Regions from separate parts of the Homo sapiens genome. Here regions 2 and 3 are each linked to region 1. Evidence: promoter capture Hi-C in human tissues and cell types (Jung and others, 2019). All regions are on one chromosome and are shown on one strand. The core of a region is centred on a gene start or on the middle of the fragment in contact, and the rest is flanking DNA. Distances in the headings are between cores, read along the strand shown.

Region 1 (3,563 bases), core at 575-3,074:
GTGCAGCTGCAAAATTTAATAGAGTGAAAACAGAGCTCCCATACAATGGGAGAGGACCCAAAGGGGGTTGCCGCTCCCTGCTGGAATGCTTGGGTTTATATCCTGATCATTGTCCCTCCTCCTGTGCTCTCAGGTGATATATGATTTGACTATTTCTTTACCTCCTGCTTTTAACCTAATTTGTATTTTAGTGAGCCCTCTTTACTACCTGACTGGTAGGGTGTGAGCTGAGATGCAAGCCCCATGTTTAAAGGTAGGTGTAGTCACCTTCCCCAGCTAGGCTTAGGAATTCTTAGTCAGCCTAGGAAATCCAGCTAGTCCTGTCTCTCACCATCAGTTTCTCCAAAACAAGTGTTCTGAGACTTCAGGCAGAGGATTTCCCACCAAAGAAATGCCAGTGACTGTTACCAGAATAAGGACAAGAATATATGCCTGGTCAGCAGATGTCCACCCCACCTCCCCATGACCCTTCATAACCCTTTTGCAAGATTCCATCCTGTTGCCCTTCTTAAAATTCTGCATTCCTGCCTTCCATCACACAGACCTGTGGTCTCCCTTCTCTCTGACCACTCTGTCTCTTCTTCCTCCTCCTCCCCTATAAGCAAAGGGATGGTCCAGGATTCAGTGTAAGCCTATCCCTCATAGCTTAACCACAGGGAGTGCATTCCTTCATCCTCTCTGTGCCTTTACACGCTCTGTTCACTCTACCTGGAGCACTATGTCCTCTTCCCACCACTCACCTCTGCGTGTTCACATTCTCTGTATCCTAGTTCAAATACCTCTTCACAAATCTTCCATATCTGATGTCTTTAAGCCAGAAATAAACTCACTCTTTCCTCTAAATTCTTATCTTTATCCCTTCTCAAAGATAGAATGTTCTGTTTTATATATTGAAATATGAATGTGTGTCACTGTTGGCTGTTAGCTACTTGAGGGTGGAAATGTGGTTTATCTTTCCCACTTAGCCCTCTAGCCAATCCCCCTAGTCAGGTAAGCTTTGTAGTCCTTACAAAGCCAGTATTTAAGTGAATTTGCATGGTGCTTCCCACTTTATTAGGGTGTATTCACAGCCATGATCATATTTGCTTCTCAAAGCAAATATGGAAGGCAAGAACAAGTATTAATCAATTTTATATATGAGAAAACTGAGGAACCAAGAGAATAAAAGATTTAACTGAAGATCTCTAAACTGGTTTTGTGGAAAAGCTGGGAGTAGAAATTTAAATCTTTAGAGTTACAGTACCGGTTATTTTCCAAGAAACACTTGCTGGTATGTGTTGTATCATTAAACTGTGGAGAATAGTTGACACCAAGTCGTTTTCTTTCAAATACATTAAATATTTTACTCTGATCCTTCCCTGTGTCTGCCAATTACTGGGATTATATGATAATTTGCTCCTCGCTTAAGAACATTTAACAGGAAACCCAGATCGAGTGGCTCTGTTCTGGCTTGGGTGGGTTTGGGTATTTTTGTTGCTGCTTCTAGTGATGGTTCTTGCTTTCTTTCTCCCTCTGGATCTGTCTTTTGGTACAAACACACCCCCAACCAAGGGAAAGGGTGAGGTGGATTTCTTTCCCTTTAGCACCTAATCTTATGATGAAAAACGCAGGTTCCTTTCTCTTAAAATTCCAAGATCTTTCCCTTCCAATGACTCCGAAGCCTGGGTGGATACCTCAACTCAGGGCGCAGAACACTTGGGGTCTGAGTGTGCAAGGACCATGCGGACCTGTTCAATCCCGGCCTTTGGGCTCCAGCCCAGCCTTCCCGGGGGGAGGAGCCGCATATGCGGCCAGGTCATAAACCCGTCAGGCCGCCGGGCTCCGGATTTGCAGCCTGAGGCAGAGCTCGGGGGCTGTCGGTGGGGACCTTGCAGGAGGGCACCCCAAGCCCGCCCGGCCCGCCCAACCCAGCCCCTGCGCGCAGCCCGGGCCGAGTAGGACCCCGCGCGCCCCTCGCTATGGCGGCGCCCTCGCGGCTCCTGATCCGCGGGGGTCGCGTGGTCAACGATGACTTCTCGGAGGTGGCCGACGTGCTGGTGGAGGACGGCGTGGTGCGGGCACTCGGGCACGACCTGCTGCCTCCCGGGGGCGCTCCTGCGGGGCTGCGGGTCCTCGACGCCGCCGGCAAGCTCGTCCTGCCCGGAGGCATCGACACACACACGCACATGCAGTTCCCCTTCATGGGCTCGCGGTCCATCGACGACTTCCACCAGGGCACCAAGGTACCCGCCCCGCCGCGCCCCCGCCCCGCGGTACCCACGGAGGCTCGGGCAGCCTCCCCAGTCGTCCCGGGGTCCTCAGCAGGGCCGCCTCGCGCGGCGCGGCGCCGAGGAGCTGGGTGGGCGGGAAGGAGCGCAGCCCCGGCGGGTGTCAGAGGGGACTCAGATTCTCTTCGCTGGGGTCCCTTTCAGGCGCCCCTTCTCGGCGGCAGCCGAGCAGCCTTGGCTCAACCAGATGCCCTCGACTCCTCCTTTAGTGGTTAATTTGACGAGTTTAAGGCCATCCCCTTACCCTAATTTCTCTATACCGCTTACTCCCCAAATCTCCCCGCAACCCCATTTTGATTGGTGTTCTGTGGAAGTCGCAAATCTTCCATACATTCTTTAGAATCTTTTTTTAAAGTAGGCACTTCCAGCCATTTCTCCCAACCATTTCGACCCATCCTTTATCCCCAACCAAAACCAAATGAAAAATCCATTCACCTGGTAGTTACAGCCTTGACTCAAAGTGAGCAGTGTAGCAGGTAATGTGTCTGAGTAGGCTAGATGCCCACCGTGTTCACGTTCCCGTCCCCTACCCTCTGCCCCCACTCCCACCCCCAGTAGAAAAAATATAGCCCCGACCAGGGTTTAGAAGAGAAAGTATTCCAGAAATGATCTCGCAACACTCACACACACCAACGCAGCCTCGCAGCAGGCTCTTTTCTCCATCCCACTTGCGCTGGGGACACAACATTCTTGCTGCTGGAGTACCCATAGTTTTACTGATGTTGCAGGAGGGTAATCAGATCACCACTCCCCAGGTGAAGGTAGGCTTGGGTTTCTCTAGATACAAAGGCCTAGAAGTTTGGGTCAATGAAAGGAAACTTAAACCAAACTTGTCCAACCTGTAGGCCGCATGCAGCCCAGGACAGCTTTGAATGCGGCCCAACACAAATTCATAAACTTTCTTAAAACATTATGAGATTTTTTTTCTTAGTTCATTGGCTGTCGTTAGTGTTAGTATATTTCATGTGTGGCCCAAGACAAGAGAAGCCAAAGATTGGACACCCCTGCAACATTTCCCCAAAGCTCCTCAACACAAGATCAAGAGACTAACAGAGCAGCTTTACAGGAACATAGAGTAAAAATTCTACTCTCAGCACTTGGGCTAAAGTAAAGCCCACATCCTCCCTAAGTCCTGTGTTTTGAGCTGCCTTGAGAGAAATGGCTCCTTCCAAAGTGAAGATGTATTGATATACTAAAGGCCTTGGCTTTTCACTTGGACCATACCTTGATGTGTGAAACAAGTTGGGCTATTAAGTCCAGTGTATAGTAGGCTTCCTTCCTCCCTCCCTCCTTCTC
Region 2 (3,563 bases), core at 365-2,864, 210 kb before region 1:
TCTAGCTGCAGAAATGCCATGAGACTGAGTTTTTGCTTCTTAGGGATCCCAGGGATAAATGGGTATGACACAAAATGTGATATTAAGAGGGAAGATAGAATATTCAGTAGACCTGTCACACATCTCTTCCTATAAGGATCCTTGTGATTACACTGGGCCCACCAGGATAATACAGGCTAAGTTTTCATCTCAAGTCAGCTGACACAAGTTTAATTCCACATGCAACCTTAATTTCCCTTTGCCATGTAACCTAACATATCCATAGGTTCTGAGGATTAGGATGTGGACATCTTTGGTAGCCATTATTTTCCCTACCACAACACCTCAATCCTCAATTGTGTTTAGGGTGTCAATAAGTCCAGAAACCCTTGTTTTTACCTACTTCATAAACTAAACCTCCTGTTTTCTCTGGGGTAGTATAGGGAGACAATGGCAGTTAATGACTGGGCAGACTGGGGGATAGAATCTGAATGTCTAACTGCAATACTACGTAAAGAGAATTTCAATGAATCTTCCTGTTTCTATCTCCACCTTCATCTTCCCATTTCCATAAATACCTGGCATGTATACCAGGTATATCAATTTCTGAGACTTTAGAAGATTCTATGGATTACATTAGTACACTGGATTGCTTCTTGTCTCTCCCCACTGCAAGTTTAGGATTCAGCTTTCTCAAGTGTCTCAAAGTCAATTGCTACTCGTTAATTTTCCTTCTAGCTTCCAAAATTTCATTTCTATTGTTTTCTCCTCTGTTCTCTTTGCCCTTGTGGGTTTATACAATTCGGGTAGATTAAATATAGAAATATCCGTAATTTCCTCCTCATATTCATGCCCCTTGCAATGTAAATTTGCAGCTCCACTAAAAAAGTGGCAAAGCCAATTTTTCCATCCCTTAAATCTGGACAGGCCTTGTGACTTGCTTCAGCCAGCAGAATAAGGTAGAAGTGACAATGTATCTGATCAAAGGGTAGATCTCAAGAGACCCTAAACACTCCATTCACTTTCTCAAGATCCCCTTCTTCTCCATATGGATAAGCTTGATCTGGCCTGGTGTTGGATGGTAGCCTGAGTCAACTCAGAGGTCCCAAATGAGGCTGGGGAGATATGGGAGTTCAGTCAAGATTAGCAAATCTGCACTTGACCTGCAGCTGACTGCAAATACATGAAGGAGCCCTACTGAAACCAAAAAAATCATTTATCTGAGCCCAGCTCACATTGCAAATCCACAGAATCTGAACTAAATAAATGGTTGTTGTTTAAAGCCACTTTATTTCAGGCATATATTGTTATGCAGGAAAAGCTAACTCATACAGTCTTTAAAAATCCCTTTACAGTTATTAATTAGAAATTCAGGGGCAGACTGTAGATGTGTGTGTTCAATCCTTTACCTTTATCGGCAACTTTTGATTGACTGTTTTCTCAATAAGGTCTGTTCAATAGAGAATCATAGAAGTATGCCTATATCACATTAATTTTATTATTTATTTTTTATTTATTCACTTGATTTTGTTTCAATATTTATTTTAGATTCAGGGGGTACATGTGCTCGTTTGTTACCTAGGTATATTGTGTGATGTTGAGGTTTGGGGTACAAATGATCACATCACCCAGTTACTGAGCATAGTACCCAATTGTTAGTTCTTCAACCCTTGTCACCCTCCCTACCTACCACTCTAGTAGTCCCCAGGATCTACTGTTGCCATCCTTATATCCAGGAATACCCAGTGTTTAAATCCCACTTATAACTGAGAATATGTGGTATTTGGTTTTCTGTTCCCATGTTAATTCGCTTAGGATAATGGTCTCCAGCTGCATCCATGCTGCAAAGGACAAGATTTCATTCTTTTTTATGACTGCATAGTATTCCATAGTATATATGTACCACATTTTCTTTATCCAGTCCACTGTTGATGGGCACCTAGGTTGATTCTATGTCTTTACTGTTGTGAATCATTAACTTGATTTTTAAAAAGCAGTAACTTTATCCAAAGCATAGCTGACATAGCTTCTGGTTTTTCATGATTCTTGTTGATCAAAAAAGTAGTTGCTATGATGATATTCAACATTCCGTTTGAAGCACATTTTTATTCTTAATTCCTACAAATACAATACATTCTGTGTCTTTTCTTATTTCACCCTCCAGCCATACCCTTTCATGGTACTCTTAAATAGGAAGTTCTTTAGCATCTTTGGTCACAGGACAGTATAGAATATAATTTTGAAATGTGGCCAGTTAATATTTCACTAAAATAAGTTCCACTGATGCACTTTTTTTTGCTCATTTTGCATCAACAGCCCATTTGAAGTGGTATAGTCCGTCTAAAATGGAGTAAAGCTTTCTAAGATAATAATAGTACATAGTTCATAGTTCAATGTTTCCAAGTATTGAGATCCAAAATCTTAAGTTATATTTCATAATATGTACAATGCCTTGTTTTGTTGGCATTCATGATTTTATATTTATAGCTCTTCAAACATTAGTATTTTTCATCATCTGAATAGATATTTACTTTCTAAGTTTGGTCATAAAAGAAATTATTTGAAAGAGTCATTCAGGAGGACAAAGTCCTTCCAATATTTGAGGGAAGATTGCTGTGTCTTTGGCTCTGACTGTCAAACCAAAGCAGGGTATAGCTCTAACCAATACAAAAATTGTTGTATCCTAACCCAATTGTTAGGCTCAGGAATACAATTATCATTACACAGAAGCTTTTAATAATTTTTCTCAGCACTTACTTTTTATTAACTGGGTTACAATTAAATGTACTTATTTTAGCCCTAAATTCAATGATAATAGATGATTTGGAGTCTTCGTAGGCAACATCAAGGATTTCTGAACAATATGTAGCAGAAAATCAAAGGAAAAGAATGGAATCATACTGTTGCCTTGGTTATTAATGGATTTGGAGCTTCTTCTGCATCCACTAATGATTATTACCATGTCCTACATAAAACAAAATGCCAATATTTGGGATATAGAGACTTGACATGAACATATTAAAAACATACAAAATGGAAAACATGTGGAAGACACAAGTGCCAGTAAGGACACAAGCTAAAAAATGGAAAAGATAGGATATGATATGAGCCCAAAGAGGAAATTAACAAATAGTAATAAAAGCTAGTATTTTTGAGAGCTTACCATTTTACACCCTTTCACAATCCTATCATATAGGTACTATTATTATTCTTGTTTTCCAGGTATTATTATTATTCTCATTTTGTAGTGCCTATCAGATAGGTACTATTATTATTCTCTGAGAAACAGACAGGTTAAGTGACTTTCCTAATATTACATAGCTAGAATGGGATGGAGCAAGGCTCATACCCAGCAGCCTGCTACAAGAACCCAGGCTCTTAACCACTGCACTACAGATTCCATGCCAGAAGGAAGCCATACGCACATTGCTTTCCATGGTATTTGGCCTTCTCTAATCCACTTCCTCTAGTAACTCTAAAAATATCCAAAAGATATAAAAATTATTATACAGATATAAGTGAATACATATGTGGAATTACATTATCTTCTTTTAAAAATTCTTTGTCTTGCTATTTCTTTTTAA
Region 3 (3,563 bases), core at 733-3,232, 180 kb after region 1:
AGGAGGTTCTGGAGGAACGCCTGGCCACTGCAGTTCAGGCGTTTGGAAGTTCTTGTGTGCTGGAGATGTGGCTGGGGTTTGTCTCACAGTGGAGGCAAGGAATTGCAACTTTTTTCTATTATTGTACACCTTGAAGGTGAGGTTAATTAAATCCTGTTGTGGGGTTTGAGGGCTGGAATTTAATTTTTGGAGTTTTATTTAATGTCGGGAGCAGATTGGGTAATACAATGTATATTGAGAATAAGATGGCCTTTTGACCTTTTAGGGTCTAGGGCTGTAAAGCATCTCAGGGTTGCTGCCAAACAAGTCATGAACTGAGCTGGATTTTTATATTTGATGAAAAAGAGCCTAAACGCTATCTGATTTGGGATAAAGAAAAAGGAGCATTAACCTTGACTATGCCTTTGGCTTTTTAAGATTAAATTGCTGGGCAGGTGGGGGAGGGCTAGTCATGGAACAAAACTGCAAGCCGGACCAGGTGTGAGGAGGGGAGGTGATAAAAAGATTATAGGGTGGAGGAGCGGAGGCTGAGGAAGAATTGGGACCTAGCTCGGCCTGGCGAGGAGGGGAGAGGTCAGATGGGTCTGTAGAAAAGGAAGATTAGAAAGACTCAGTGACGCTTGGGGTTGGGACTGAGGGGACAGGCAGGAGGGAAAGAAGAAAGATTTGGGATGAGTTGCACTGGGCACAGAGACTAGGAAGGGACTGATGTGTAAAAGAATGCCTGGATGTCAGGCACCTCAGACCGTTTTCCTATTTTACAACAAGAATTATTTAGATCTTGCAGGATGGAAAAATTCAAAGTGCCATTTTCTGGCTATTTGGAACTACTGTTGAGTTTGTATTGGGGTCAAGCGGCATTGCAGAAGAAAATAAGGCATTTAGGTTTTAGGTCAGGTGTGAGTTGAAGAGGTTTTAAGTTTTTGAGAACACAGGCTAGGGGAGAAGAAGGAGGAATGGAAGGTGGAAGCTTACCCATAGTGAAGGAGGCAAGCCCAGAGAAAAGAGTAGAGACACGGAGAAGGGGTGGGGGGTTCTTGCCCTCCAGAAAAGCAGAGAAGGGGTTGGGGCATGGAAATAAGGGATTGGGGCACAGAGATAAAAGGTCAGGGTGTGGAAATAAGGGATTGGAGCACAGAGATAAGAGGTTGGGGTGCAGAAATAAGCGATTGGGGGGGTTCTTGCCCTCTAGGAAAGCGGGACTTGCCGCTAAGGGTGAAGGAGAAGGGGGTTGAGGGGTACTTGCCCCTTCCCCAGAAAAGCAGAGAAGGGGTAGAGACAAGGAGAGAAGGGGTTGGGGTACTTGCCCCTTCCCCAGAGAAGCAGAGAAGGGGTAGAGACAAGGAGAGAAGGGATTGGGGTACTTGCCCCTTCCCAAGAAAAGCGGGACTTGCCGCTAAGGGTGAAGGACCAAGGCAAGTGTCCCTGCGTGGTCTGACACCCTTGAAACATGGGTGTATAATCAGAGAGGCATCCCTGCAATGATTAAACACAAAGGGAAGGCTGCCTTCCCAGTCCATGACAGGCGCTGGAGTTTTGGGTCCACGGATAAAACATGTCTCTTTTGTCTCTACCAGAAAATTAAAGGAATTGAAATTAAGAGAAGGGAGAGATTGAAGTGTAGCGCCAAGATTGAAAGAAGAAAGAGGTTGAGGGATAGTGAGGGAAGTTGGAGAAGAGAGTAAAAAGAGGCCGCTTACTGGATTTGAAATTGGTGAGATGTTTCTTGGGCTGGTCGGTCTTAGGACCTGAGGTCGTAGGTGGATCTTTCTCACGGAGCAAAGAGCAGGAGGACGGGGTATTGATCTCCCAAGGGAGGTCCCCCGATCCGAGTCACGGCACCAAATTTCATGTGCATCCGTGTGAAGAGACCACCAAACAGGCTTTGTGTGAACAACATGGCTGTTTATTTCACCTGGGTGCAGGCGGGCTGAGTCCGAAAAGAGAGTCAGCAAAGGGTGGTGGATTATCATTAGTTCTTATAGGTTTTGGGATAGGCAGTGAAGTTAAGAGCAATGTTTTGTGGGCAGGGTGGATCTCACAAAGTACATTGTCAAGGGTGGGGAGAATTACAAAGAACCTTCTTAAGGGTGGGGGAGATTACAAAGTACATTGATCAGTTAGGGTGGGGCAGGAACAAATCACAATGGTGGAATGTCATCTGTTAAGGCTATTTTTACTTCTTTTGTGGATCTTCAGTTACTTCAGGCCATCTGGATGTATACGTGCAAGTCACAGGGGATGCGATGGCTTGGCTTGGGCTCAGAGGCCTGACAGTTTCATATTGAATTTCTGAAGCCTTTTTGAAGGAGGCAGTCAGATCTGCCTCTAGCTCAGTGAGCAGAGGGATGACTTTGAATAGAATGGGAGGGAGGTTTGACCTAAGCAGTCCCCAGCTTGACTTTTCCCTTTAGTTTAGTAATTTGGGGACCCCAAGATTTTCCTTTCACAGAATCTAAGAGTGGCAGTGGCCAACCCAGAGATTTGCTTTATCTGTGATGGTCGTCTGAAACCTCTGCCCATTCTTTGGAACACAGGCCATAGAGGGAGTTGAGGCCCTTTGTTTTGGGTTAAATGGAGGTTGCCAGGTAGAGGGTGCTAAGTGAAAATGTTTTATACACAACATGCTGTTTACAAACAATAGTAGTTCTCCTGTCCAGCCTGCCTCCGCTGGATTTCTCTGTATGTAAGTTCCCACCCCCTCCATGCTAATAAACCTTCTGTCTCCAGGTCTCTTCTTTGGCCTCTCAGACATGGTGCCATCCCTACTGGAGTCAATAGGGGACTGGTAGGACAGTCCCACAAGTAGAAGAAACACTGATTCATTGGATGCTTCATGAGCACCTTCTCCAGGTCAGGCACTTTCTAGGAGCTGGAGAAATATCCAGGAACAAAACAGACAAGTATTCCTGTATTCAGGGAGCTATGTTATAGCAGGGGGGATATAGGCAAATATTAAGAATAAATAGAAATAAGTTAACACAAATTAAGCTTCTTCCAGATTATCCCACCACAATGGCATCATCCCAACTTTAAAATATATATAGTTTTTCCTAGTGGCAATTTAATTCAGACCATAATGGCCAAAATGATTGCTTTTGTAAACTAAAAATAAAATTCTAAGCCTTCCAGCCCTTTGATTGGACCCCTCCTCTCAGCTAAGGGAATTCTAAAGTTAACCTGAAAACCTAGTTCAGGCCAGGATGGGAAGCCGGGGTCAGGGGTGTTGGCCATGCCTCATTATGCCCTCCACCCTTTGGAATTCAGGGACAACTGACCAGCATTAACATCAAAACAGACATCTTAAGACTTCTTGTAACAATAAGGCTTCAAGTCCCAGCCTGACTTTAGTATAGCATCACTTGACAAATAGCAGGCCCTGAATGAAATCGAAGCATTTTACCCTAAAATATATTTATTTGACATATTTTGAAATGGCCCTGCAAAGCTTTCTCTCATGGGGAAAAAATCTACATTCTGTAGAGACTCCCTTTCCCTTTCCAGTTCTTTTCTTCTGATCCAGGAGAGAATTAACTAAGAGTCTAGCACCTTTTTAAGTCTGA

Evidence for each region. Contacts are between HindIII fragments. The study calls those that stand out against the background at their distance.
Region 2: a contact is called between a fragment that was not itself captured here and the fragment with the promoter of DPYS in region 1, in 1 of the 25 tissues and cell types used here (H1 embryonic stem cells).
Region 3: a contact is called between a fragment that was not itself captured here and the fragment with the promoter of DPYS in region 1, in 1 of the 25 tissues and cell types used here (hippocampus).

What each region holds. Positions count from the first base shown.
Region 1 is chr8:104,465,316-104,468,878 of GRCh38, reverse strand. DPYS (dihydropyrimidinase) reads left to right here and starts at 1,824. Exons shown (of 10, transcript NM_001385.3): 1 at 1,824-2,222. The coding sequence starts at 1,959. LOC105375691 (a long non-coding RNA gene) reads right to left here and starts at 3,109. Exons shown (of 3, transcript XR_928507.3): 1 at 2,892-3,109. RefSeq lists an enhancer at 1-70. The HindIII fragment of the contact is 4,558 bases long and covers 12-3,563 here.
Region 2 is chr8:104,673,861-104,677,423 of GRCh38, reverse strand. No RefSeq gene overlaps it. Among named protein-coding and RNA genes, the nearest start is that of LRP12, 86 kb to the right of the region's middle. The HindIII fragment of the contact is 4,163 bases long and covers 1-3,563 here.
Region 3 is chr8:104,284,625-104,288,187 of GRCh38, reverse strand. No RefSeq gene overlaps it. Among named protein-coding and RNA genes, the nearest start is that of DCSTAMP, 53 kb to the left of the region's middle. The HindIII fragment of the contact is 4,105 bases long and covers 1-3,563 here.